Regions from separate parts of the Homo sapiens genome. Here all the other regions are linked to region 1. The links are contacts of gene promoters, found by promoter capture Hi-C in blood cells and fetal thymus (Javierre and others, 2016). All regions are on one chromosome and are shown on one strand. The core of a region is centred on a gene start or on the middle of the fragment in contact, and the rest is flanking DNA. Distances in the headings are between cores, read along the strand shown. Region 1 holds the start of C11orf71 (chromosome 11 open reading frame 71). Region 2 overlaps ZBTB16 (zinc finger and BTB domain containing 16). Region 3 overlaps ZBTB16 (zinc finger and BTB domain containing 16). Region 4 has its middle 35 kb from the start of ZBTB16. Region 5 has its middle 11 kb from the start of ZBTB16. Region 6 overlaps HTR3A (5-hydroxytryptamine receptor 3A). Region 7 has its middle 14 kb from the start of HTR3B.

Evidence for each region. The method cuts DNA at HindIII sites, captures the fragments that hold promoters and counts their contacts. A CHiCAGO score of 5 or more calls a contact.
Region 2: a fragment that was not itself captured here is called in contact with the fragment with the promoter of C11orf71 in region 1 in 1 of 17 cell types (fetal thymus); the score reaches 5.2 in fetal thymus.
Region 3: a contact is called between a fragment that was not itself captured here and the fragment with the promoter of C11orf71 in region 1, in 2 of 17 cell types (naive CD8 T cells and activated CD4 T cells). The highest score is 5.1, in naive CD8 T cells.
Region 4: a fragment that was not itself captured here is called in contact with the fragment with the promoter of C11orf71 in region 1 in 1 of 17 cell types (naive CD4 T cells); the score reaches 5.1 in naive CD4 T cells.
Region 5: a fragment that was not itself captured here is called in contact with the fragment with the promoter of C11orf71 in region 1 in 1 of 17 cell types (activated CD4 T cells); the score reaches 5.1 in activated CD4 T cells.
Region 6: a fragment that was not itself captured here is called in contact with the fragment with the promoter of C11orf71 in region 1 in 1 of 17 cell types (naive B cells); the score reaches 5.4 in naive B cells.
Region 7: a contact is called between a fragment that was not itself captured here and the fragment with the promoter of C11orf71 in region 1, in 1 of 17 cell types (total B cells). The highest score is 5.5, in total B cells.

The regions. Positions count from the first base shown.
Region 1 is chr11:114,399,115-114,403,184 of GRCh38, reverse strand. C11orf71 (chromosome 11 open reading frame 71) reads left to right here and starts at 2,674. Exons shown (of 1, transcript NM_001271562.2): 1 at 2,674-4,070. The coding sequence starts at 2,854. The coding sequence ends at 3,225. RBM7 (RNA binding motif protein 7) reads right to left here and starts at 2,519. Exons shown (of 5, transcript NM_001286045.2): 1 at 2,418-2,519; 2 at 1,325-1,487; 3 at 270-357. The coding sequence starts at 2,513. RefSeq lists enhancers at 2,347-2,889, 2,787-3,176, 2,890-3,432. The HindIII fragment of the contact is 8,162 bases long and covers 1-4,070 here.
Region 2 is chr11:114,109,276-114,113,274 of GRCh38, reverse strand. The region is part of intron 2 of ZBTB16 (zinc finger and BTB domain containing 16); the gene reads right to left. Among named protein-coding and RNA genes, the nearest start is that of ZBTB16, 52 kb to the right of the region's middle. RefSeq lists a silencer at 1,842-2,042. The HindIII fragment of the contact is 960 bases long and covers 1,556-2,515 here.
Region 3 is chr11:114,135,860-114,139,860 of GRCh38, reverse strand. All of the region lies in intron 2 of ZBTB16 (zinc finger and BTB domain containing 16), which reads right to left. Among named protein-coding and RNA genes, the nearest start is that of ZBTB16, 78 kb to the right of the region's middle. The HindIII fragment of the contact is 5,674 bases long and covers 1-4,001 here.
Region 4 is chr11:114,022,872-114,026,385 of GRCh38, reverse strand. No RefSeq gene overlaps it. Among named protein-coding and RNA genes, the nearest start is that of ZBTB16, 35 kb to the left of the region's middle. The HindIII fragment of the contact is 2,454 bases long and covers 1,029-3,482 here.
Region 5 is chr11:114,046,911-114,050,896 of GRCh38, reverse strand. No RefSeq gene overlaps it. Among named protein-coding and RNA genes, the nearest start is that of ZBTB16, 11 kb to the left of the region's middle. The HindIII fragment of the contact is 8,900 bases long and covers 1-3,986 here.
Region 6 is chr11:113,982,742-113,986,684 of GRCh38, reverse strand. HTR3A (5-hydroxytryptamine receptor 3A) reads right to left here. Exons shown (of 9, transcript NM_000869.6): 5 at 3,396-3,565; 6 at 510-670; 7 at 1-167. Among named protein-coding and RNA genes, the nearest start is that of HTR3A, 9.6 kb to the right of the region's middle. The HindIII fragment of the contact is 3,438 bases long and covers 474-3,911 here.
Region 7 is chr11:113,888,746-113,892,387 of GRCh38, reverse strand. No RefSeq gene overlaps it. Among named protein-coding and RNA genes, the nearest start is that of HTR3B, 14 kb to the left of the region's middle. The HindIII fragment of the contact is 7,574 bases long and covers 1-3,642 here.

The sequences.
Region 1 (4,070 bases), core at 1,425-3,924:
TATGTGGGTATGGTTATGTCGCTACAAATCAACAAATAGTTATATACGTATCTATTCTAAGGGGACTATATACAATGTGTTTGTCTATAGAATAGACACATTCTATACCCCTTAGAATAGATACATAACAACAACCCCAAAAGGCAAGTAATAACGGCAGAATGAAGAGATAAGAGAATAATGAAGGAGACTATTTACTCATGTGTTTTGAGGCTATTCCCTATAAGAATTCCTGATAAATGATCTTAACAATAAGTGAGAAATATTACCTGCTAGGAGATGTGGAGGTAGGGCTTGAATTTCCAACATGATGTTGGGGATATGACAAACTGACATCTTGTGGGGCATGACTACTTCCTAAAATGAAACAATTTGAAAAATTATTCTTGATAGAAAATCTAATTTGAAATTTTGTCTTCCCCACTTGAAATCACTCCAAAAAGGTAAACACAATCTAAAAGAGAAAAATCTCAAACTACTGGCCGGGCGCGGTGGCTGACGCCTGTAATCCCAGCACTTTGGGAGGCTGACGTGGGCACATCTCTCGAGGCCAGGAGTTCGAGACCAGCCTGACCAACATGGTGAAACCCCACCTCTACTAAAAATACAAAGAATTAGCCAGGCGTGGTGGCGTGCACCTGTAATCCCAGCTACTCAGGAGGCTAAGGCAGGAGAATCACTTGAACCTGGGAGGCAGAGGTTGCAGTGAGCTGAAATTGCACCACTGCACTCCAGCCTAGGCAACAGGGCAAGACTCCATCTCAAAAAAAAAAAAAAAAAAAAAAAAAAAAAAAAAAAAAAAGAATCTCAAGCTGCTGTAGACCGCTTTACGGCTTCATCGGGGTGAAAATTATAAGTGTATAATATCAGATAAGCAAAACAAAGCACTCCATAAATATCCAATCTGACCATAATTTTCTGATCTCCACCCTAAATTGTAACACTGGATACATGGACAGTTTCATCCTCACATGATCAAGAACCAAAATATATAAAAGTAATTACAAAGCAGCCAGGAGAAGTATTTTCAGAAAATAAACCTAGCTCTTTTCAGAGTACCCAAGCCCAGCTCTCTTAGTGATACAGTTTATGTTTTTTCACTAACCCAAAATGAAACTTTAAGCTCAGTTTTGAAATTCTAATTTCAAAATCCATGTGTCAATGTTACCCGTTTTCAGGGATATATAAAGTTTGCTATATAAAGTTTACTATTCACAATGCTTAAGAAAGAAGTTTCATCTACAAATAAGAGGTTCTTTAAAACTGAATAATAAATTTAAAAACAGCAGGAAACAATGCCCCCCGAACCTCATTGGGCAGTTACCTGATCTAAATTGAATTTTGATAGGCCTTCCATAAAGTTTGATTCCATTAAGTAGATTCATTGCATAAGGAACAGACACTTCATGTTTGAAATTCACAAACGCAAACTGCTTTGGTTTACCATCCTTATCTTTTGGAATTTTCACCTTTATTACTGGCCCAGCCTACAAACAAAAAGGTGTTTAGAATTTAAATAAAGCAACTAAGGGAAAATACTCAAATTTTACAAATAAGATATGACAAAGTTTAAAAACAACAGAAACGTAATCAGAAACTTCTTTTGAAAATGATGCACGGATTTCCATTTTGGCTACAGTAAACATCCTAGTTATGACTGAACATTAGATTTATTTGGGGAAGGGGGCCCATAAGGAACTGGAAACACAATCACTTTTGCAATTCACAGCACTGTATGGCTTAACATAGTGACCAATCGCCATTATTTTGCCACTCCATGAAAATGAACATTTATCAAGAACAAGAGAATGATTTTCTTTAACTAAAAACGGACTTTTGTATTGATTAATCAAACAATACCAGTTATTAGGGGATAGGGATGGGGGGAATAGGATACTCAGAATTTTTCACACTTTTTAATACAGCAACACTAAAATGCTGTTTTTCTACGGAGTACTTAACCATTTTATTTTACATATTTTAATAATGCTGCAATTTGATAAGCAAACTTTAGGGGAAAACAGACACAAATAAATTAAAATATTAAGTTCCCAGTCAGATAAACCAAAGACAAATTATCCTAAGGGGAAGATGACAACAGGAAGGATAAGAAAAAGCACTGCTCAACGAAGACCCTACACACACACTGTGTTCCCAAGGACCCCTGGATCTCTACCACGGGAAACCTGATCGAGGATCCCTCCACCACCTTTAGTCGTCACTTTCGGCCTAAACGAACCAAGATCTTCCAGGAAAGCGACACCCAGCGAGCGTTTCGCAACCCAGACCCGCCTTTCACCCCCAAACAGCCACCCGTCGGGTCCCCTGACGGCTACGAAAAGAAAACGGGGTGGCCGCTGGCCAGGCCCTAGGCGAGACGGAAAACGAAAGGCAAAGGGCCGAACCCAGCCGCTTACCTGGTGGAAAAGCTCGAAAAGGAGCTCCTCGGTCACTTTCGTTTCAAGGTTGCCCACAAAGAGAGTGCGATCCGCTTCCGCCGCCGCCGCCCCCATCTCAGCGTCGCCCCCTCCCTAACCTGGCCAAAAGGTCGTGGCCGACGCACCCACTGCGCATTCACGGAAGCCCCACGTCCTCACGCTCCCTGGCGTCACAAACGAAAACGCCCGTTGCGCTTGCTCTCAGCGGGCGACGACGTGCGCGGACGGTCTGCGCATGCTCGCCAGGATACCCCTCGTTAAAGGCAAGGCGGCTTCTGGCTCTTCCGCAGGCTCAGTTATGGGTTCCTGTGTGCTTAGTCATCGGGTCCGACACAGGCTGGACTGATCTGGGGAGCCGCGAAGGGCCTGCCTTCACAAAGGGACGTAACGCAAGTACTGCGGGCAGTGTTTGAATATGGCCCTGAACAATGTGTCCCTGTCCTCCGGTGATCAGAGGAGCAGGGTGGCCTACCGCTCTTCCCATGGCGACCTCAGACCGCGGGCGTCAGCGTTGGCGATGGTCTCCGGAGACGGCTTCCTCGTTTCCAGGCCTGAAGCGATTCATCTAGGACCTCGGCAGGCGGTGCGACCAAGCGTTCGGGCCGAGAGCCGTCGAGTGGATGGTGGCGGCCGGAGCCCAAGGGAACCAGATGGCCGGGGCCGGAGCCGCCAAGCCAGATTCTCACCTTACCCAATCCCTGCCGTTGAACCCGATCTCCTAAGAAGTGTGCTGCAACAGCGTTTGATTGCATTAGGAGGTGTTATCGCAGCTCGAATTTCAGTTTAAACGAACACCTTTCCTCTGGCCCTCACTTAGCTTGTGAACAGGCCTTTTTAAAATCCTTTCTTGGTGTAGCAGCAATCGTGTTGTTTTATTTTTAGATGGATGTATTTTCATTTAATACGTGGGAGTTATATGAATATGTCCTAGCACTAAGGGAAGTGTAACAGTTGATTGATTTAGGTGGTTTTATGCAGCCAGAACGATTGGATCAGGAAAGGTGTGGAAGGGATATTCTTAGGTCGTCACAAAGCTGAGCTGATGGGAGCACCCTCCCCAGAGGTCAACAATCCATTCGTTAACTCAGACACTTAACCTTTACCTTTACTTCTGTTGGCGAAAAAGAAGTGCTCCTTTTTATTACACTGATTTATCCTTCCATCTTTTCCTTGGCATTTACCATCTTCCATCTCCCCCTTCACTTTTTTCAGATATGTCTACAAACAGACTCCAATCTCAGTCGCACTAAAAATAAGAACAAAACCTAAACCTTACAGTTCTTTCAAATTATTAAATCAATTTATTATTCCTTTCTTTGGCAAAGGTTCCAAATTTTTACTTTATATTTGTAATTTTACTATTTGCATTCAGTCCCAGCGCATTAATCTGAATCTGCTGTCCTAAAATACACTGGTGAAAACATTACTTGTACAATCTCCTATCAGAAAACTGTTCATCTACTCACTGTAGTGCCCTCCTTGAAATGTGTGTTTGTTCATTCAACTAACAATATTTGGGGATCCCTGTAGTAAACACTGTATGAATTTTACACAGTCTGGCCATCAAGAAAGATCACGGAGTATATTCTAGATGGGGAGGCTACTAAGTGAATAGGAATCACCACGCTGGGC
Region 2 (3,999 bases), core at 786-3,285, 290 kb after region 1:
GACCTGTCTGGTAAATCACTTATGTACTTATAAATGGTTGTTATACACCGCTAAAGACAGTATAGAATTCAAAGACGAGTGAGACAGAAGACAGCATCTCTGCTATCACATGACACTCTAAGAAAGATTAGACATGCAGAGATGTATCTTCCATAAGCCAGAAAGCAGCAGGTACCTTGAGAATAAAAATGAAGTGTGTGGGCTGGGTGCAGCGGCTCATGCATGTAATCCCGGCATTTTAGAAGGCCTAAGCGGGAGAATGGCTTGAGCGCCCAGGTGGTCATGATCAGCCTGGGCAATGCAGTGAGATCCCATCTCTAAGAAAAAATTTTAAAAAATTTAAAAACCTAGGTATGGTAGTGCATTCCCTGTAGTCACAGCTACTTGGGAAACTGAGGAGGGAGGATCACTTGTGCCTGGAAGGTCGAGGCTACAGTGAGCTATATAATCAGGCCACTGCACTCCAGCCTGGGTGATAGTGCGAGACCCTGTCTTAAAAAAAAAAAAAAAAAAAGAAAATGAACTGTGTGAAAATAGAAATGGCTTTATGGAGCCTACATTTCAACTAGGTCTTAAAGACTGGGTAGAGCTATGAGAGAGAACAGTAGGACTGCCTTCTGGACAGGTAACTCTTAGGAAAGGTCTCCTCAAGTAGAGAAATCTTTATGGTTCAAGTACATGCCAAAAGGACAATATTTCCCTTAGACAGAAGGGGTGTTTTGACGACAGCCAACTTTTTTACAGGAAGAAAAATCAATCTTTTAACATCATTCATTCTCACCAGTCTTTCTCCTCTTCCTCATCCCTCCCTTCCTCATCTTCGTGCCCTCTCTATCCCTCCCTTGCTCTCCCTCTACCTTCTCCATCTCTCATTATCCAAATACTTTTCCAAAATTTAGATTATAAAATATGACCATCAGATGCTTTATAAAATCTACGCTACAGACATCATTGTGACATTTTTTAGTTAAATAAATAATAGAAATGTTCTGTGATGAAAGGAACCATAATCAAAACTGTAGGACAAATGATAGACTGGGAAGAATCTTTGCCATGCATTTGACAGATAAAAGATTCATTTTTCTGATTTATATCGAAAGAGAACCAACAAATGTGCAAGGAAAAGGCAAAAATCCGAAAGAAAATCATGCAAAAAGTTTTAAATTTTTGATGTAGTCAAATTTACACATCTTTTCCTCTATAACCTTTGGGTTTTATTTACAACCTTTTACATATCTATTATATTATTTACAATATACATCCCCCACAAAAAAATTGACAAATGGACACCAGAGAGAAATTCTTTCTTTATTGAAGTGCGTCTGGAAGCCTCAAAAAAAAAATGTTTAAAACAGACTTGGGGTAAAAGGGGAAGAGGAAGAATGTGTCTCAACAGTAGCCAACAAAAACATTCAAGATAAATAAATTCAGCATTCTGGCATCTGTGGACCCAGAAAAACTAGGTTGCAGATTAACTTAATTAGGAAAACCACCCACAACAAACCAATAGCACCAGGAGAGGGAGACGGAAAGAAGAGACTGAAAGAATGAAGCTTTGTCAAAACAGAGGTGTCAGAATCACAAGTAAAATAACTCCCAAAGGAACTCTCAGCCCTTCATAGGACATGGTGGTCTCTGCATCTCATTCATAATGTTTGCCTTGGCTGAGGTTCTAAACCACAAAAACATCTGTACAGAAGGAAGCAACCAATTTCAGTGAAATCATACTGGAAACCTTTAACATTATTTAGCGTCATTTCATGAGAGGACAATGCAGTTAATGTTCCCCACTGGAAGGACCGTCTTGTGGTTCGCAGCGCTAGGCAGTTTCTCTCTTTCTCTCTATTGGTTTAAATGTGAAAGAGAAAGAAAAGGGGGATTTCAGAAATGGAGGGAAGAAAGAAATAAACCATCTAAGGAGCACAGCCAATTATATAGGTTGGCTTTAATTTTCAAACTAGTGCTTAAATACCAATGGTATTATTGCCTTTAGCTCTCTGGAAACTACAGTGTAATTAGGTTCACTCAACTTAACTTAAAACATGCCCAGTCATTAAAATTTTTCTTGATCCAGCCAAGTTATCTCGCGCGTGCACACACACACACACACACACACACGCAGCACAGATCTCTAAGCCAAAAGTACATCACGTCCCCAAGAAACGGCAAAAACATGTCACTGCTTTTTGGAAATCATGCTCATGTTTTGTGACCTTCCTTAAAGATAATGTTCTCACGATTAATTAATTTATGAATAGTTTTCCCCCCAACATGCACAACAGGTTCCATGCAAATTCTTGAGCTTTTAAATTATACTGTTAATGAAAGCAAATAAAGGCAGTTAAAAGGCAATTTGCTCAATTGGTGTTAATATTTAAGCACAGCATGTGTAAAAACAAGATCACAGAATTCAGTTTTTACAAAGAAAACTTTAACCCAACTTCATTTCCAAAAGATTAAACATGTTGCCAAGAATATTTTCTCCCTCTACCCTTCAGCATCAGGTAATGAAGCTTTTTATTACGTAAATATTTCACATTAACCTCATCAGTTTCTATCACTTATAAATTCCAATCTATAAAATCAAATCAGCTTAATCATGTTTAGATTAGATCCTGCATCCTGAAGGCAAACTAAATTATTTACATCCTCACTCTCCTTGGCACATTCAAGCACCAAGACTTGAAGACATCAGAATAGAAAGGTTTCCTCTGCCTTCCTATTCCCGAGGTCTCACTGGCCCTCCTTCTTTAAATCTGCATCAGTGAAACCAACATAGCAGCCTTGGCATCGGCAAATTCTTCTAAACCAACCTCACGCAAAAGCCCTAAAAGTTTACTGGCTGGGCAAAGGCTTGGCCGTGGCTTTCCCTGGAGTATTTCTAGATTCCCCTACGAAAAAGAAAACTTCCCAGGTCAGATTAGTAACAGTAACTTCCCTGGTGACCCCAGATTGCTGCCTTGGGGGACTGTGCACAGGTTGCCACAGAAGACTGCTCTGTGACTGATCTTTGACCGTAGGGTCTGGCTGAAATGCTCCACATCTCCAAGAAAGTCTGAGCCCTTCATAGGGCTAGGAAAAGGGGGTGGGGGCACAGTGGAAAGGGTTCGCTTCTCCATGACATGAGGGGCTCCACCAAGAGCCCTAAATACCGCCCCCCAGCACACACATTTGCACCTAAGTCCCCCACATTCTTCACGCCCCTTCTCTGAGAGTCTAGTCCCCTCAAAATAGAATTTCAAAATGTTACAACGTTAAATAGATGTTGAAGGCCCTCAAAGGAGTTGAATTGTGGGCTCCTTCCAGAAGTCCTCCTGTGGCCCCCGTCTGCTCTATCCTCCGGTCCTGCTCTTCTAACATACTTCAGTTTCCCTTGCTGCTCTGCCCAGCTGTTCAGCCAAACCATGATTTCCTTCCTTTCCCTCAACATACCACACTGTCTGAGAGAACCAAGTTCCCTAAGAGAATCATTCCAGTTTGCACTGCACCAACTCCATGAAGCCAGTTTTCTGTCAGGACTGCTGGAAGGATGGCCCCCAGACAGCTCTCTCTGAGTTCAATCCCTAAATCTCTCCCCTCCCCCAACTCTTCCTTTCCTATCTCCCCCACCCCCAAGTTGCTCATCCCTCAAACCATTTCTATTTGATTAAGAGGATGGCCTCTGCAAGGATGTTTACATTAGGCTCACTTCCAGGCCATAACCCATCCTGCGGGAACACATTCCTGATCGGGGCAATGGAAGGAACTATGCAAAACATCTCGGCCTCATTGTGTACCCCAACTCCAGCCTTGGAGAACTCCACCAACCTCCAGGTCTCTCCAACAGTAAGGAGCAACAGGGCATGGCGGACAGAGCCTGGCTGCAAGAATCTGAGATGTGAGGAAAAGGCGCAGACATTTGTAGTCAAGCCAAAGACCTGACTAAGCCAAAGAAGATGTCACACCTCAAGGCACAATGACCCAACCTCACTCACCACAGACCAGCTATTATTTCTGGGG
Region 3 (4,001 bases), core at 1,066-3,565, 260 kb after region 1:
TTGCTCCCCCGGCCTCCTCCACAGCCGCCCATTCACAGAGAAACAGATTCTTTGCGTGAATATCAGGGTGACGGGCCTTCCGGACACTCACTCTGTTTGGTCACTTGCCAGGAGGCTCTGTCTTGCTCCGTAGTTGGATGCCAAAAAGGCAAGAAGATGCTGCAGAAACTGGCACCTTCCATAAGAATCCTCTACTACACACACACACACACACACACACACACACACACACACGTGGACCGCGGGCACATACCCACACACGCCATCTCTCGCCATCTGTTTGAGCAAACTGCTGGTCTTTGGGGGGGGAGAAGGAAACCTCTTAGAGATATTTGTTTAATATCTGAGCAGTGGGGGAGCAGATGAAGTATGCAAGTTTCATTTAGAAAATCGTCAAGAAACTATTATAGTAAAATGAGGCTTCCAGTTTCCAAATAAAGCTGAAATGATCACACGGAACAAACTGGCGAAGCCGGAGAGTGAAGAAGCAGGAAGGAAGTACAATAAAAATAATAACTGGAGGAAAACAGGAAGTCATGAGATGCCAGGGAATTAGCGGCAGCCCCCATCCCCTTCAGGACTGGGGATCAGTGTGAGCAATTGGCAATGGGAAAACCGCAAATCAAAAGCGACAGCCTGGAGAAGGGTCTCCTTCCATCTTCAGAAGTGTGGTCTCCATGCTCCAGCAATTCCTCTGTTCCTAGATGTCCATTTGCATCTCAAGACTTGCATTGTACAAATCCTCACAAAATCACTCTGGAGGAGAAAGAGACTGGCATCCATCTCTTACCTCTTTTTTTAGAAAACTGGGCTGAGAGAGCAGGTGAGACGCAGGAAATGAGTAAGGAGCCTTGTAAGAGGAAGGGAGTAGGCCAGGCACAGTGGCTCACGCCTGTAATCCCAGCGCTTTGGGAGGCAGAAGCGGGTGGATCACTTGAGGTCAGGAGTTCGAGACCAGCCTGGCCAACATGGTGAAACCCCATCTCTACTAAAAATACAAAAATTAGCTGGGCATGGTGGTGCATGCCTGTAATCCCAGCTACTCAGGAGGCTGAGGCAGGAAAATCTCTTGAACTCGGGAGACAGAGGTTGCAGTGATCCGAGATCGCACCACTGCACTCCAGCCTGGGCAACCGAGCAAGACTCTGTGTCAAATAAAAAATAAAAAATAATTTAAAAAAAAATTAAAAAAGAGGAAGGGAGAAAAGAGTGGTAGTTGACTCAAAACTCAACACAAACTTATTGCCTACTAAATGCAGGGCAGAGCATTAGCCACCACAGAGAGATTCAAAGAAACATAATACACAGGCAATGCCTTCAAGGAGCTTACAATTAAGTAGGGAATGCAAGACATATGTATGTAAAAGACTTTAAAACAGTGCACACTAATAATGTATGACAGGAATAAGGGAGATGCAAAACTTAGTGCTAGATGAAGAGGACTAAAAGTTTGGAATGTAGGCTCCAGGCAACCTAAGTAGAAAATAACCTCTTCTCTCCGTGAAGTTGATTGCCATCGGGGAACACCACAACCACCTCCAAAAACCTATGCCTCTGTCCTGCAGCTCTCACATCCTCTCCTGGCCTCCACTGCAAAATTCTACATCTACCAAGCTCGAAATATGAATAATATGAATGCTACCTGCTCCTCAGTCACATGGCCTGTTTTACTCTAAAATGGCAACCCCCGTAACTGTCATTTTGCATTAAACCCATGACTGGTCCTCCTGCCCTCCCTCACCACTTGCCTCTCTCTCCAGCTTGGGAACAGAGCCTGGCCGCTGGGGCTGCCAACAGGTCCCGTGCACCCTTTCATCCCACTCCATGACAGGCTCTGCCCCAAGGGCCCCACAGCCCACGCCTTGCTCCTTGCCTTCCTAAGAAGCTGCCAGCACAGCAACACCTGCCTGAGCGGTCCTCTCACCGATGCACAGCATGGGGCTGGCCACACTCATCACCAACATGCAGATGTGCACAGAGCAGTCAGGCAGCACCTTTCCCACCTCTGTCCTATTCCCTAGGGGAGGAAGGAGACTCCATCCAGGTCCCAGAAAGCCCCTTACTCCAGTGTGGACATTTCTCCATTGCCTTGCTACACTGTTTTCTCCAGAGAATCCATCCTATTCCCTCTGCCCAAAAAAAAGGGCATGGTCAACCTTAATGAAATAAACTGTAATAGAGTAGGCAGGTAACTTCATCTCCCTTCCAGAAGACACAATCTAATTCACACTCTAATTGTCTCGCTGGAAGCCTCCGGGCCTCTCTCCACAAGCGGGCTGGAAGGATTTGGAAGTGTCATGGCCTGGAACTCCTCAAGTCTAGTCATATAAATACTTAATTGCCACTGGAACATCCACATTGTGTCACTTTGGTATACCCAACCAGTGTGTGGCCAAGTTCCTTCTCTGGTGAGGCTGAGACACGGGAAGTGCCATTGGTGGCCTTTTCATCTTTCTCTTTCCACTTCCATTTCTTTCCCAAGACACTTCCATTTTGGAGAGCTCTTCCTCCTGAGAGCTAGGGAGAGGGCAGCGGTATGAGTGGGAAGACCAACGGCTTCTTTAACTGCTGTTGGCTGTGACCTTAATCACGACAATGAAGTTTAGTTTCTCTTTTGGTAGAGAGATGAGAATAGCAGACTTCAAATGGTAGAAAAGGGTCGGTCTCCTGAACAATGTACTCCAAAGGTCACTGCTGCATGCAGGAAACAAGAGAAGACACAGATGCAATGTCTGTTTCCATAATAGTTTAACCCTCTAAGAATCAGAGGGCTCAGAGAGCCTGGGAGGTCCCTGGGCCCTCTATGCATACAGGAATAAATGAATGTACTCAAGCATTCCAGACAGATCTCCCAGAATATTTTTAAAGACCTCCAGAAAAGAAATGCTATATAGAACCTGGGATCATTGTGGTGATCTTGGTGAGGCAGGAAAATGGGATAGGAAGTGTGAGTATAGGACATGTGACTAAGGAATGAGAGCTCAGTCATAAACCCCAGAGACAGCACGAGGTGACCTACAAGGGAGCTAATGCCCTGCAGTTAAAACTACACTTGAATCTTAAAAATAAAATGGAAGCCCCAAAGACAAAGTCATCCTCAGTAGAAATATTCTCAAGTTCTGTGACGAAGAGTAAAACCTCCCCCCAAAAAAACCCACCCCTTTTAGTAGGCAGTGATCTGCCCGATGATGACTTTCATTCATCTCTTGGTGGGGGCACACTGGAAAGCTCATCTCTGTAGCTACCACAACTCATCTACAGCCCTCAAACTGATAATAGAAGGTAAGAACCTCAGAACATTCCAAATGTTGCAATAGTAGGGGGAACAGCTCTCAGACTCTCACAAACTCTCTGTAAGATCTTGCATGAACCACTTATGCTCTCTAGGCCTCAGTTTCCCCATCTGTAAAATAAGATGCTCTTTCCTACTGACAGCCTGTGGACAGATCTGTGATCTATGAGCTCAAGAGTCCCTCCCTTATGTGCACAACATCTGGAGAGACTGAAGCCAGACTCTGTTTCCACAGTTGCTTTTGGGTGGCCCCCCATAGAGCACCCTCAGCCCCCAAACAGTGGGGGCTTTAACCTTTGCAAAATGCCGAGATAGTACTTGAAGGCTCATTTTTAACACTTCTAGGAGAATTCGCTTATTTTAAAAACTACACCCAGGTTGTTCACAAAAGGAAGACAAGTTACAAGAAGGACTCCAGCAAAGGAAGGTTGAGAAGGACATCAGCACCCCAGGCAACATTCCTGCTAGAGTCCAAGCCTAATGAATTCAATGGCATTCCATGCAACCCTCCTCCTTTACTCAGAGCCCTTGCCACGAGATTCCACACCGCAAAGGGAACTCACCGAAGAAAAGGAATCTCCCCCACAAGAAGGAAGTGAGGGGTACAGAGAAGATGTGGGAAAAAGGCAGATGTTCTTTCCTTTGAGCTGAATAGAAGCTAGGCTGAATAAGAGTCCATCCTCCCTGGCATTTCAGATAAAAAAGGACT
Region 4 (3,514 bases), core at 1,006-3,505, 380 kb after region 1:
CTTTGCTTTGGGACTCATTTGAGCTAGTTATGCCACTGGTGGAGAGAGTGGACGCTGGGGAAATAGGGACCTGATTATGATGAAGCTTGGTTGGGCACTTTTCAGTAGGCAACACAGAGCCAGTGATGGTGTTAATTGTGGAAGAGACCTAATTGGAACTGCAGGAGGGTAGAGAATGAACTAGCTGAGCCCATACAAGAGGTGGGAAGTCCAATGAGGGGCTCTTGGACGTATCTGGGTGACTGTAAGTATAGGCAGTAATGCTATGATCCAGGAGCCTTAGAAGTGGGACTAGAAAGAAGGGAAGAGCTGACGGCTATTCAGGAAGTTTAATCAACAGAAATTTGTTGACTGATTAGATGTTCACGTGGGAGGAGAGCAGATTTTTGTGGGAAGGAGAGATGAAGGACAGAGACAGAAACTGAGAAAGGGAGATAGGCAGAGAGAAAGGGCAAAGAGAGACTAAAAGGATGATAGAAAGACAGATGGAATGACAACACCAAGAGAGAGATGGAAAAGGAGAGTTGACAAGACTCTTAGGGAGACTTTTAACTTATTTGGAACTAATTTTAGACTTACAGAAACATTGAAAAAATAGTACAGAGAATTCCCACATACTGTTCACCCAGCTTGCCCTGAAGTTGGCATCTTACATAACCATAACACAGTTATCAAAACCAGGACATTAACATTGGCACAATGCCATTACTCAAGCACAGACTTTATTCAGATCTCACCAGTTTTGTAGTGAGATGTGGAGAGTGAGAAACATAAATACAGAGAGCCAGACAGGGAGAACGAAGTTAGACACAAGTTCCCAAGTCCCTCCTCCTGGGAGAAAGTTTACAGAGTTGACACATCAGAGCCTGAGGGAACAGGCTAGCTGTTTAGCACGTGCCATATATTAGGTGCCTCATACATGGCTATTTAATAAATAAATGGAGTCAAGCGCTCTAGGCACAGAAGCAAAGGCATTGCAATGAGTGTCCACATACAACCAACCCACAGTTCTTTGTCTTTTCTAAGCTTCCATAGAATCCAGGATCTGGGGCTTACAGCAACAGACATTTCCAAAAGGCCTAATGCCAAGAGCATCTTCTGTTCAGTTCATCAGCTGAGCTTCGTTCTCCAGAGAGAGGTTCCTTTATTAAAGCCCTTTACTGAGCCTTTCCCCTTAAATGCCTTTCTTACAGCACAGTCATGGCCGCCAGGATCTCCACTGCCTCCCTTTGAATTTTATAATTTTTAAGAGCCTAGGGGGAAGTTGATCACTGTTCTACAGGAAGGGAAGGAAGACTTTTAACCCATCAGTGGGATCCTGAGCAATCTTGTCCCCTTAATTTAGGAACCAGGCAGCCTAGGGAGGGGTGAACTGTCAATCACCAGAAAGTTCATTGATTTGTCCCCTCCTGGGTCCATCCAGCATAGAGAGGAGCCATCCTCAGCAGACAGCAAGTGTGGAAATGGCAGTCTAACCAAGGCCCACCATGCCCTCTTCCCAGGCCAACTCCAAAAGCCTGTAAGACAGTCCATGGCCAAGCCAGCCTGCTTCCATAACAATGACACACTCAGAGTCTTCTTTAACAAGTCCCAGTTCTGCAGGTCTTTGTGGCATTAAGAGAAACACATCTGCCATTTTGTCCCCTCTTGACTTCCTTATTTTTACCCCTAGTTATTCAGCAGCCCCTGGGGTTTCTTGATGACCAACAGCAGCCCTTAAGTGGTAGTGTCAGAGGAAAGGTAATGCAAAACTTTCCCCAGCAGCAGATAGCAGGGCAAACCTGTGACGTGTCCCCAGCACCAAAGGACCCATGATTCTGGGTCAATCGAGATTGCCCTTGATGGAGCTCCTAGACCATATCAGAACAGATGCGTGTGTGTGTGTGTGTGTGTGTGTGTGTGTGTGTGTGTAGAATGGGGGAAGGGAAGGGACTGAGGACACCCCTTAGTTGAGGGATATCTAGATAAACTTGGATAAAGTTACATCTCACATACCTCCAGGCACCAGGAGTGGGCCCTGCAGGATACTTGCTTGTCCCAGCCCTTGAAGACCTTCCCCTGGCTCTCCCATACATTCAGAGATAACGCTGATCTTTCTCCCAACTGGTGGAGAGATGCACGGGAGCAACAGACAGAAAGAATCAAGGACCCAAAACCATTTTTTCAGGTTTTTCGTGTTACCTTATTTGACTCAACTCCCTAAATAATGGAGGAAATCACTCATTAGTCCACTTTTATCTTTTTCCCTAATAAGAAGGATAAGAAATAGCTAGCTTATACTGAAGCAGAAGGAACTCAGTTCAGCTATAGTGCCCAGCACAATGCCTGGCACATAGTAGGTGCTCAAAAATATATGCTAACTGAGGCCGGATGCAGTGGCTCACGCGTGTAATCCCAGCACTTTGGGAGGCCGAGGTGGGAGGATCACTTGAGGTCAGGAGTTCGAGACCAGCCCTGGCCAACATGGTGAAACCCTGTCTCTACTAAAAATACAAAAATTAGCCAGGCGTGGTGGCAGGCACCCGTAATCCCAGCTCCTCGGGAGGCTGAGGCAGGAGAACCGCTTGAATCCAGGAGGTAGAGGTTGCAGTGAGCCGAGATTGCGCCACTGCACTCCAGCCAGGTGACAGAGTGAGACTCCACCTCAAAAATAAAAAATAAATAAATAAATAAATAAATAAATAAAAGTAAAATATATGTTAACTGAACAAATGAACAAGTGGTGAATATAGGAGAATCCTTAGTAGCTTATTGTGGAAAGACCTTTGAAATCAGAACCAAGCTGATATTCTGGACCTGCTCCTTCTCGTGTGCCCACGGGTAAGTTGCTCGCCCTCCATCAGCCTCAGTTTTTCTCACTTGTAAACACAAAGATGAATAGCTTGCTCCTTCCTTGCTATGATGAGGATTGAACAGATAATAGGTGTGCTAAGCAGCATGCATAGCACAGTGCCTGGCATGAGGTAGATAATAAATAGTAGCTACTTTAATGGTTTTTTATGTAGTTAGAAGCACTCAAACTGAGAAGGTTCTGAAGAACATTAGCGAAGAGAGCAGACTTAGGGGTTGTTCGAGAGCAGTCCTGCCCCGAGGCAGAAGGATGGACGCTTGAGGTGAAGATCTGAGGCCCAAGCCTGCCTTGGGGTTCTAGGTTTCTGGGTTCCCATTGCCCGTGGGATGTAGTTGTCCCCTAATGACTGGGGAGAGCCAGGTGCTGAAGCATAAAATTAGCAGCCATGTCACCTGTCTTGTCCGTGTCTTCCAGGAGATTTGGGGGTCTGCAGCCCACCCATGTGCATGTGGCTACCCACCTCTCTCCTCCTCTCTTTCTCACAAAAGTCTAAAGATCCCCCAGGGCCACGCCCATGCCCCACAGTCATTCAGTTACCAGTGCATCTCCAGGTGAGAGACATGGGTTGTCTTTGGTGCCAGAACACACTTTTCCTCCCGGGCTACCAGCCTGTAATACTTTAGAGCAAGCTTGCCCGATCCACAGCCTATGGGCCGCATGTGG
Region 5 (3,986 bases), core at 1,025-3,524, 350 kb after region 1:
TTTAAATCTCTTTAAAAGAATGAAGCATGACCTGTGTTTCTTGGCTTCTAATTGCAGCTGAGCGCAGCTGTTTGTGGTCCTGTTCTCCCAGGCTCGTCTCGTTCATTCTGTTGGGAGTGAGGTGAGCAGGCAAATGGAGAGCGAGGCAGGGTGTGCAGGGGGTGGTGGTAATTTTCACCTCGTAGCATGACATGTTTATTAGTGTGTACGTACGTTAAGCGCAGCAGCCTGGTTTCCTTGAGTTAAATAGCAGTCATGCCCAACTGGCTCTCCATGTACCATTACTCCAAGTGATTGAGCCAATTTCTCCCTCTGCCATGAGTTTAAGTTGTAAACCTCTCAGCCAGACAGGGAGGCAATGATGGGCTGCCTGTTGTGATTATTATTAACCTTTAGCATTACACTTACAAGACCAGGGGGGTCTGTAGAGACGCCCAGGGTGACGCAGGCACAGACTACAGGCTCCCATCTACCCACCTCGGTTCAGCCTGCATCTCTTCTCGACAAGAAAGGCAAGCATGTGAGTGTTCACTTTGGCCATGCTGGGAGGCTCCAGCCTACCAATCTGGGGTGAGAGATGGCTTGTGCTGGGTGAATAGAGAAATGTTGGGTGTGCTCTGTTCCATTTGGGCAGAGGAAAAGAAAACACATGGCAGGAAAGCTGGAAAAGAGATTTCTTTCTTTCTTTTTTTTTTTTTTTCTTTTTTTGCCCAGGCTGGAGTGCAATGGCACGATCTCAGCTCACTGCAACCTCCACCTCCCGGGTTCAAGCGATTCTCCTGCCTCAGCCTCCGGAGTAGCTGGGATTACAGGCATCCACCACCACGCCTAGCTAAGTTTTTGTATTTTTAGTAGAGACAGGGTTTCACTATGTTGGCCAGGCTGATCTCAAACTGCTGACCTCACACAATCCACCCGCCTCGGCCTCCCAAAATGCTGGGATTACAGGCCTGAGCCACCGCACCCGGCTGGAAAAGAGATTTTCTAGGGGTGCCTGCATGTTCAGAAATCATTTGCCAGCCAGAATTTTTTCTCTTTGCCATATATTTGTCAGCCAGCTGCTAAGTTATCCAGGCAAAATTTGCAGGGACAGCAGCTACCCCCTAGCTGTTAGCTGGTTGACCAAGACCACATATATTTAGCATAATTATACCGGGAACTTGGAGTCACAGAGGGCTACACGGAAGGAGGAAGTGTTAAGGAAGCTGTCTATCCCAGATCCACCACTCTCCGTGACTTTCCCCCTTCCAGTCCGTATTTCTTTTATTTTCCTTCAAGGAACCAACCTTCTTCCCTGTTGATTAATCACGAATTGGCAGAGATGGCAGTTCCCTGAATGTGGGCAGCTTGTTTTGCTTTTCTGAACAGTTTGGTCTCTGAAAATCTCTGAGAAGAAAAAAAGTCCACCACCCAGCCCTAGGGTGCTTGTGTTGCTGCTTTGTTAAAAATCCGAGGGTACCTTTGGGCTGGCACTGGGGGAAATCTGCAGTCAAAAAATAATTCTGCCCTCAGGAAGGTTACTGTTTAATAAGCAAGGCTGGAATCAGGAAGGGCAGGTGGTGGGAGGCCTTGTGTTACTGTTGTTTCCCAAAATGAAAGAGGATGGGGGAGGGGGAGGTGTTTGGGAGGACAAGCACCACACAGAGCCTGCCTGGGTCAAAGGTAACAGAGTAACCATTGTCTGGCTGAGCAATTTCCTACAGTCTCTTGGAGGGGCCCCTGCCAGCAGCTTGATAAACTCCGTTGTTTATGTAGAATGAATATTGATTTGATAGGTATAAACAAATTTAAACCATACCTTCCATTTATCTTGGCCATGACATTTATTGAATACTGCTTATGAGGGAATAACCTATGGCTAACACAGGTTGAGGACTCACTCGGTGTCAGGCTCTGGCTCTTGACATGTGTCATCTCCTTTACTTATCCAAATAATCCCATGAGTTGTGGACTGTTGTCAAACCCATTTTACAGCTGAAGAAAATGAGACAGAGAGATAAAGCAGCCTTCCTGAGGCCACAAAGCTAAAGAGCAGCCAGCTCCCACAGACTCCATGCCTGGACTGCTTGTCCTTATACTTCCTCTTTGGATTAATTTCCATTCCTGATGGCAGAGGCATTTGGTCCTGCATCAAGAGAAGGGAAGGAGATGGGGCCGGGCTCATGGCTCACGCCTGTAATCTCAACACTTCAGGAGGCCAAGGCAGGCAGATCACTTGAGCTCCAGAGTTTGAGACTAGCCTGGGCAACATGGCAAAACCCTGTCTCTACAAAAAATATATATATATGTAAATTAGCCAGGCATAGTAGCGCGCCTGTAGTCCCAGCTACTTGGGAGGCTAAGGTGGGAGAATCAGTTGAGCCCAGGAGTTTGAGGTTGCAGTGAGCTACGATCACACCACTGTACTTCAGCCCTCTGTGACTCCAGGTTCCTGGTATAATTAAGCTAAATATACATGGTCCTGGTCAACTAGCTAACAACTAGAGGCTGGCCATTGCCCTGCAAATTTCTGCTGGATAACTTAGCGTCAGGCTGATAAATATATGGCAAAGAGAAAAAAAAAACTCTGGCTGATGAATTATTTCTGAATATGGAGATGCTCCTAGGTCTCTTTTCTGGCTTTCCTGCCATGCCCCTTCCTTTCCCCTACCAAATATAACAGAGGACACCCAACATTTCTCTCTTTGATTTTTTTTTTTTTTTTGACAGAGTCTCACTCTGTCGCCCAGACTGGAGTGCAGTGGCGTGATCTCGGCTCACTGCAGCCTCCACCTCCCAGGTTCAAGTGATTCTTCTTCCTCAGCCGCCCGAGTAGCTGGGACTACAGGCATGCACCACCATCCCTGGCTAATTTTTGTATTTTTAGTGGAGACAGGGTTTCACTATATTGGCCAGACTGATCTCAAACTCCTGACCTCAGGGGATCTGCCTGCCTCAGCCTCCCAAAGAGCTGGGATTACAGGCGTGAACCACCACGCCCAGCCTCTTTTTCTTTCCTCTAGGTTGAGGAGAGGAAATGGGGCGGTGGGTTAATATGAAAAATAGATAGACTGGTAAAGCTGTTATGTTCATTTCTAAATGAGTACTCACCAGGCACTCATGCCTATTCGTATACATTAGGTATAACTAGAAGACAAGGCAGTTCACTTTTCCGTAAGCATGCAAGAGTTTGCCCTCTTCAAAATAGTTGCCCTCTTCAAAATGCCAGATAGACTCTTAGAAGCAAAAGAGACTTGAAATATCAACTAGTCCTAAGGTGAGTGGTGGGACTCGACTCCAGAGGCGGGGCTCAGACACCAGACCAGATTGAGGGCTAGCTAAAACACAGACGGGCAGAAGCAGCTCTCCATAACACAGCCCACCTGTGTGCCATGTCAGTTTACCATTGCCATGGCAATACTTGGGAGTTACTGCCCCTTTCCTTGGCAATGAACTGCTGACCCAAAAGTTACTACCCCTTCCCTGGAAACTTCTGCATAAACCACCCCTAATCTGCATGTAATTAAAAGTAGGTATAAATATGACTGCAAAGCTGCCCTGAGCTGCTGCTCTCTGCCTATGGAGCGGCTCTGGTCTGCAGGAGCAGTCACAGAGCTTAGCACCACTGGAGCTGTAACACGGCTGCTTCAGTACAGCTGTTTTCTTCTACCTCAGCTTGCCCTTGAATTCTTTCCTGGATGAAACCAATGACCCTCATGGGCTAAGCCCCAGGTTGGAGTTCACCTGCCCTGCATCAGTCCAATCTCACCATTTTACAAGAGAGGAAGCAGAACAGAGAGGTGGCACAGCATTCCCAAAGCCATACGGCCAATGAGAGCCAGGACTTGGGACCAGAGCCAGTTTGGGGCCATCATGAGGATGTCATGGAAGCCATTCAGCCATTCTTGGAGATCTTTTGGTATTGCCTTCCAAGTACATAGCATTAATTTTTTTTAAAATCTTCAGTCATGGCATGTCTTGCCCATAGAGGGAAGATTTGATTTTCA
Region 6 (3,943 bases), core at 943-3,442, 420 kb after region 1:
ACGATGATCAGGAAGACCGAGTAGCCCAGGAGGAGTGTAATCTTGAAAGAGACCCTCTCGCCACTGTTGGGGGGCAGGTAGAAGCCCACGATGTCCATGACCATGAGGAAGATGCTGGGCAGTAGCAGGCTGACCACATAGAAGAGGGGCCGCCGGCGGATGACCACCTGGGACCGGAGAAGAGCTTGTGGGAAGCCTGGGGCAAACAGGCTCTGCTCCCAGGAACCACCCCACAAGCTCAGATTCCTTGTTTTATGGGGCTTCCAGCCTGGATTGCTCAGAGAAGAAAACAGACAGACCCCCATACCCTGCCTCTCAATCCAGGCTTATGGCTGTTTAGAATAAGTAAGGGACATTCATGGAGTTTCTCCATCTACTTCACTGAAGTTCCAGATGTGTGCAACCCTGGGGTTGGAAAAAGGCTATAGAAGTTCTCCCAGTATGCCTCCTTAAGTCTACCTGGATGTGAAGCTTTATTCACCATTTTACCCACATTCACTCCCACTCACATAGAACTTCATTTCTGCATAGTAGTTACTGCTTTCCATGCTGAACTCCCGAAAGTAGGGCAGCACCCCCAGCAACTCCCACTCTCCCTGGTTCATGAAGACACTCCTGTCGGATTTCACCTTTTCTGGCAAGCGCCACAAAGAGATGTTGATGTCCTGGACTGAGAGAGAATAAAGCAAGCCAGCTTTGGAATCTAGTACCCAGAGCCTGCTGGACCCTGTGATGATGGGACACAGGTGGGCAGCAATTAAGGGGAGCTGATATCCGATGGCCCAACCTCAACCTCAGCACATCACCTTCAGCCTCAGTGTCCTCAGCTATAAAATAAGGTACTCACCATACCTATCTCACAGGGCCGCACTGAGGGCAGATGAAGTCCTAAATGAAAATGCACGGTGCAAAGAACCATGCAAACCATTCATTAGAAAGCGCTCTCTCTCCTTCACACACACACACACAAACACACACACACACACACCCCTTCCAAACAGCTTTCTAGCTTTCCCTGTTAGAATTGCCCATTGCAACAATGAACAAAAGTCAACATTCTTCACCTTTGCCTTGATGGAACTGCCTATCTTTAAAAGTGAATTAAGAAAATAAGCAAAATCCTCACTTATAGATTGTAATTCCACTTCTCAAGATCTGCAGCAGAGACATATGTACCAGGAACGACAGAAGTATCTATTGCAGCAAAATATTGGAAAATACTGAAATATCCATCAATCAGAAAATGCTTAATAAGCTAGGATGCAACCAAAATCATTAGATGTTTGCATTTGTGGTAGTGGTGAGCACAGCTGCCTTCCAAAATCATGAGCTATTTTATAGCAGCTAAAATTTTTGAGGAAGACCTAAATGTGCATGAACTCCAAAAAATGTCCAAGACCTAATGTTGGGTAAAAAGAATCAAGTAGTAGTATATAATAATATATATACTGATATATTCATCTAAAATACGAACTCGTAAAGCAATTTCCATGTAGTTTCCATAGATGTGTATGTGTGTATGTAAATGTGTAGAGAAGGATTTGGAAAAATATACTGTGCTAGATGAAGTTTCTACTGATAAAAGTGGTTAACTCCTGTTGTTGGTGAAGTTTGGGATTGAGGGTAGAAGTCAAAGCAGACGTTAGCCTTATCTGTAGTTCTGGTTTTGGTCAAGGCAGTCATGCATCACCGTCATAACTTAAGTTTAAGGTAATGAATACATCAGAACAGAAGTGGGGGATGCCTTTTTTTTTTCTTTTTTGAGACGGAGTCTCAGTCAGACTTGTCACCCAGGCTGGAGTGCAGTGGTGCAACCTCGGCTCACTGCAACCTCCACCCTCCGAGTTGAAGTGATTCTCCAGCCTCAGTCTCCTGAGTAGTTGGGATTACAGGCGCCTGCCACTGCACCTGGCTAATTTTTTGTATTTTTAATAGAGACGGGGTTTCACCATGTTGGCCAGGATGGTCTCAATCTCATGACCTCGTGATCCACCTGCCTACGCCTCCCAAAGTGCTGGGATTACAGGCGTGAGCCACCGCGCCCGGCCTGGGGGATGCCTTCTTGCAACAGGGTGGTGTGCATTTCACCAGCCCTCTGGCAAGCCCTTAGCTAGCATTCATCTGCTCGGTAACATTTGCTGAGACCCTTCCTCTGTGCCAGGCCCTGTGCTGGGGATCTAAAGGTGGGCGAGAAATCATGTCCCTGCCCTTTCCAAGTTTTTTTTACTTTTTATTTTTATAGGGTCTCATTATGTTGCTCAGACTGGCCTCAAACTCCTGGGCTGAAGCAATCCTCCTGCCTTGGCCTCCCAAACTGCTGGGACTACATTTGTGAGCCACTGCACCCGCCCCTTTCTAAGTTTATATCTAGGAGAGAAGGACACATTGAATAAGTACTTACAAGGGTGACAGAGGTGGGGAGAGGACCAGGATGCTATAAATTGGGCAACAGGGATGGCCTAGTCTAGGGGATGAGAGGGTAAACTGAGGAGCTGAAACTTATGCTGCCATCAGAAGGGTGAGTAGAGGGGTTGGCCAGGCTAGGTGTGGTTGGGGGGAGCAGCTGTGGGGCAAGTTGGGAGAGGGAGGAAAGGGCCAGGTAGCATAGGAGAGGAAACAACATGTGATAAAGGGAAAGAATATGAGGGTTTGGGGCTAGAAAGGAAGGCAGCTGGGTGGGAGCAGAGCTCAGAGGAGCAGATGAGCCTGGAGCAGCTGGCTGTGGCAGTCAGCTCAAGAGGGTGGATTGTGTTCCAGGGTATCTGGGATCCCATTGAGGGGTTTTAAGTGACACGGTCAGATTCGCATTTTACTAAAATCTCACTGGCTTCTGTGAGAATCGCAAATTTAGGGGGACACGAATGCATGGGGAAACCAGCTAGGAGGCTAAAGCAGAAACCTAGGCAGGAGACGAGGGTGGTTTGCATGGGGGTGAAGTGAAATAAATGGATCTGAGAGATGCTTAGTGCCAGATCCTGTTGGAGATATTGGAAAAAAATTGTCCCTTACTGAGCGTCTTGCCGTCAGTTCACACCCTCATTGAATACTGATATATTAATGTAAAATAAGAACTCATAAAGCAATTTCCATGTACTTTCCATAGATGTGTATGTGTGTATATATACGCACACATGAATGTGTGAATGTAAATGTGTAGAGAAGGATCTGGAAAAATATACTGTGCTATATGAAGTTTCTACTGATAAAAGTGTTTAACTCTTACTGTTGGGGCAGCAAGAGCAGCAGATCTACCTCATGCAGAGGATGAGGAAGCAGAGGCCCAGGGCATTAGTAGGCTGGATACGTGAGAAGGCGCCCTGGGGAGCACTCCTCGCTCAGGTGTCCCTGGGGTCCCCCAACCTCCACCCCTGTCCCGGCGAAGCCCACATACTCACTGGTGTGCAGCCAACTGGTGAAGGTCAGCGAGCAGTTCTGGACATCGAAGGGGAAGTTGTAGATGTCGAGGCTACAGGCAGTCACCACCTGAAGGGGCTTGTAGTTCTGAACTTCGCCTTGATGCCGAATATACACGTACGGGATATTTGGAGACTTCCCCACATCCACGCTGGCGGGGGAAAAGGGGTTAGTTTGGGAGCTCAAGAGACAGGGCAAGCTCTGGGTGCCTGAAGATCTTGGAACAACTGGGTAGGGAGTGAAGTTCGGGGAGGGTATAGGCAGCCGGATAACCTGGATGTTTTGCCTGGCCTCGGTTTTTCCAACCTTCCTATCTTAGGCTTCCTGACCTGCCGTTGTCAAGGCTAGTTTTCAAGCAGTCATGGGCATTTCTCCTTTATTCCCCTGGCTCCTGGCCACACAAGGCAGGGAGGAAAACCCATGGGCCCAAAAGCCATGGACAGTAGGAAGCGTGCCCAGTGGCCCCAACCCGTCACTGCCCTGGGCTGGGCAAAGCTTGGCTCCCAGGATCGCCAGTCCTGCGGGACCA
Region 7 (3,642 bases), core at 174-2,673, 510 kb after region 1:
TTGGGAGACTGAGGCAGGCGGGTCACTTGAGGTCAGGAATTCGATACCAGCCTGGCCAACATGGTGAAACCCCATCTCTACTAAAAATACAAAAATTAACCGGGCATGGTGGCGCCTGCCTGTAGTCCCAGCTACTTGGGAGGCTGAGGCGGGAGAATCACTTAAGCCCAGTAGGTGGAGGTTGCAGTGAGCCGAGATCGCACCACTATACTACAGCCTGGGCAACAGTGCAAGACTCCATCTCAAAGAAAGAAAAAAAATATTACGCCTCCTGGAAAAAGCTCTTTCCCCAAATATTTGTTGATGACTTTGCCATAATTTTACCAGAGTCACATGGTTCCTATCTTGACCACATATTTTAAGAATAAAATATGAAATTTTAAAATCTGAAGTCTAAGTTATACTGCTGTGATGTCTAAGCAAGTAATCTGCAAGCATGGCAGCACATGAGGCTCATCGAGTATTTTTAAATGACCTGGGTCCCATCTCTATAGATTCTGACATTATGGTATAAGATGGGACCCAGGGGCGGGCGCGGTGGCTCACGCCTGTAATCCCAGCACTTTGAGAGGCCAAAGTGGGCAGATCATGAGGTCAGGAGATCGAGACCATCCTGGCTAACACGTGAAACCCCATCTCTACTAAAAATACAAAAAAAATTAGCCGGGTGTGTTGGCTGTCGCCTGTAGTCCCAGCTACTCAGGAGGCTGAGGCAGGAGAATGGCATGAACCTGGGAGGCGGAGCTTGCAGTGAGCCGAGATCGCACCACAGCACTCCAGCCTGGGCGACAGAGCGAGACTCTGTTTCCAAAAAAAAAAAAAAAAAAAAAAAAAACAGTGGAATTGAGTGGGTATGGCTATTGAGTTGACTTGAACTCAGGAAAAAGATAAAGAAAAACAGAGAGCGATTAACCAACAATTAAAAGCTGAGTTTGGCTGGGTGTGGTGGCTCACACCTGTAATCCCAGCATTTTGGGAAGTCGAGGGGGGCGGATCACAAGGTCGGGGGATCCAGACCATCCTGGCCAGCATGGTGAAACCCTGTCTCTACTACAAATACAAAAAGTAGCTGAGCGTGGTGGTGTGTGCTTGTAATCCCAGCTACTTGAGAGGCTGAGGCAGGGAAATCACTTGAACCAGGAGGTGGAGGTTGCAGTGAGCTGAGATCGCGCCACTGCACTCCAGCCTGGCAACAAAGCAAGACTCTGTCTCAGAAAAAAAGTTAGACCGGGCGTGGTGGCTCACACCTGTAATCCCAGCACTGTGGGAGGCCAAGGTGGGCAGATCACTTGAGGTCAGGAGTTTGAAACCTGCCTGCCCAACATGGTGAAACCCAATCTCTACTAAAAATACAAAAATTAGCTGGGCGTGTTGGTGCAGGCCTGTAGTCCCAGCAACACAGGAGGCTGAGGCACGAGAATCACTTGAACCCGGGAGGTAGAGGCTGCAGTGAGCCGCACTCCAGCCTGGGTGACAGAACGAGACTCTGTCTCAAAAACAAAAAATGAAAAAACAAAAATTAGTCATGCGTGGTGGCACATGCCTGTAGTCCCTGCTCCTCGCGGGGCTGAGGCATGAGAATCACTTGAGCCTGGGAGGCAGAGGTTGGAGTGAGCCAAGATTGTACCACTGCACTCCAGCCTGGGCGACAGAATGAAACTCTGTCTCAAAAAAACAAAAACAAAAACAAACAAACAAAAAATTTCAATTATTTTGTGAGAACAAAGCTATTTTCTTTCTTTTTCTTTCTTTCTTCTTTTTTTTTTTTTCCTGAGACAGAGTCTCACTTTGTTGCTTAGGCTAGAGTGCAGTGGCTCGATCTTTGCTCACTACAACCTCTGTCTTCCAGGTTCAAGCAATTCTCCTGTCTCAGCCTCCTGAGTAGCTGGGATTGGAGGTGTGTGCCACCACGCCCAGCTAAATTTTGTATTTTTGGTAGAGACGGGGTTTCACCATGTTGGCCCAGCTGGTCTTGAACTCCTGACCTCGTGATCCGCCCCCCCTCGGCCTCCCAAAGTGCTGGGACTATAGGCTTGAGCCACTGTGCCTGGCCCAACAAAACTATTTTCAATCTGTCATTTAGAAAAGGGAAAATAAGCTCTTTATAGCTCAGTTAAAGATGAAGATGAGGTCTCAGCTGGACATGGTAGCGCATGCCTGTAATCCCAGCACTTACGTCAGGAGGCCAAGGCAGGAGGACTGCTTGAGGCCAGGAGTTCAAGACACAGATGAGGCATTATATCAATAAAGTGGCTTAGATTTTTAGGGTTTTTTTGTTTTTGTTTTTGTTTTTTTGACAGAGTTTCACTCTTGTTGCCCCGGGTGGAGTGCAACGGAGTGATCTCCACTCACTGCAACCTACACCTCCCGGGTTCAAGTGATTCTCCTGCCTCAGCCTCCTTAGTAGCTGGGATTACAGGCACACACCACCATGCCTGGCTAATTTTTGGGTTTTTAGTAGAGACAGGGTTTCGCCATGTTGGTCAGGGTTTCTCCATGTTGGCCAGACTGGTCTCAAACTCCTGACCTCAGGTGATCCATTCGCCTCGGCCTCCCAAAGTGCTGGGATTACAGGCGTGAGCCACCGTGCCTGGCCTAGATTTTTAGTTTTTATGAAAACCAACACAGAGACCCCCAACATCTTGCTATGGTTTGAATGTCCCCTCCAAAACTCAGGTTGAAATTTAATTGCCATTGTGATGGTAATGGCTGGGTGCAGTGGCTCACCCAGATGGGACAGGCTAGGTGCAGTGGCTCACATCTGTAATTCCAGTACTTTGGGAGGCCAAGGCAGGTGGGTCGCTTGAGCCCAGGAGTTCAAGACCAACCTGGGCAATATGGTGAACCCTATGTGTACAAAAAAATACAAAAAAAAATAGCTAGATGTAGTGGCACACACCTGTGGTCCCAGCCACTTGGGAGGCTGAGGTGGGAACCTCACTTGAGCCTGGCAGGCAGAGGTTGCAGTGAGATTGGGCCACTGCACTCCAGCCTGAGTGACAGTGATTAGGCCATGAGGGTTCTGCCCTTATGAATGGATTAATGGCATTTTCACAAGAGTGGGTTCCTGATAAAAAGCAAGGTAAGCCCCTCTTGTCCACTCTTGCTCTCATGTGAGCTCCTTTTAATTTTTGCCTTCTGCCATGAGATGACTCAGCAAGAAGACCCTCACAAAATGCCAACACCTCAACCTTGGACAAAAACTTCCAGAACTGTCAGAAATAAATTTCTTTTCTCTATAAGTAACCATGTCTGTGGCATTTCTGTTACAGCAACACAAATGGAATAAGACACCTGTGTACATGGGTAGAAAAGGCAAGAGATATGTCATAGCTTTTCTCATATGATACAAAAGTGTCATGTTTGTTAAACAAATTTTGTTCCAAGAAATCCCTCTGGCAATCCCCAGAATCTGCTCTGAATGTGTATGCTTATTCAGTAGTGTCCTCAAAGTGATAGAAAAGTGGCTCTTTACTCTTTCCAGTTTGAGCAATGCATATTTAGTTTTTTTCTTTAAATTTAATAATTAAAACTTGGCCAGGCTGGGTGCGGTGGCTCACACCTGTAATTCCAGCACTTTGGGAGGCCGAGGCGGGTGGATTACGAGGTCAGGAAATCGAGACCATCCTGGCTAACATGGTG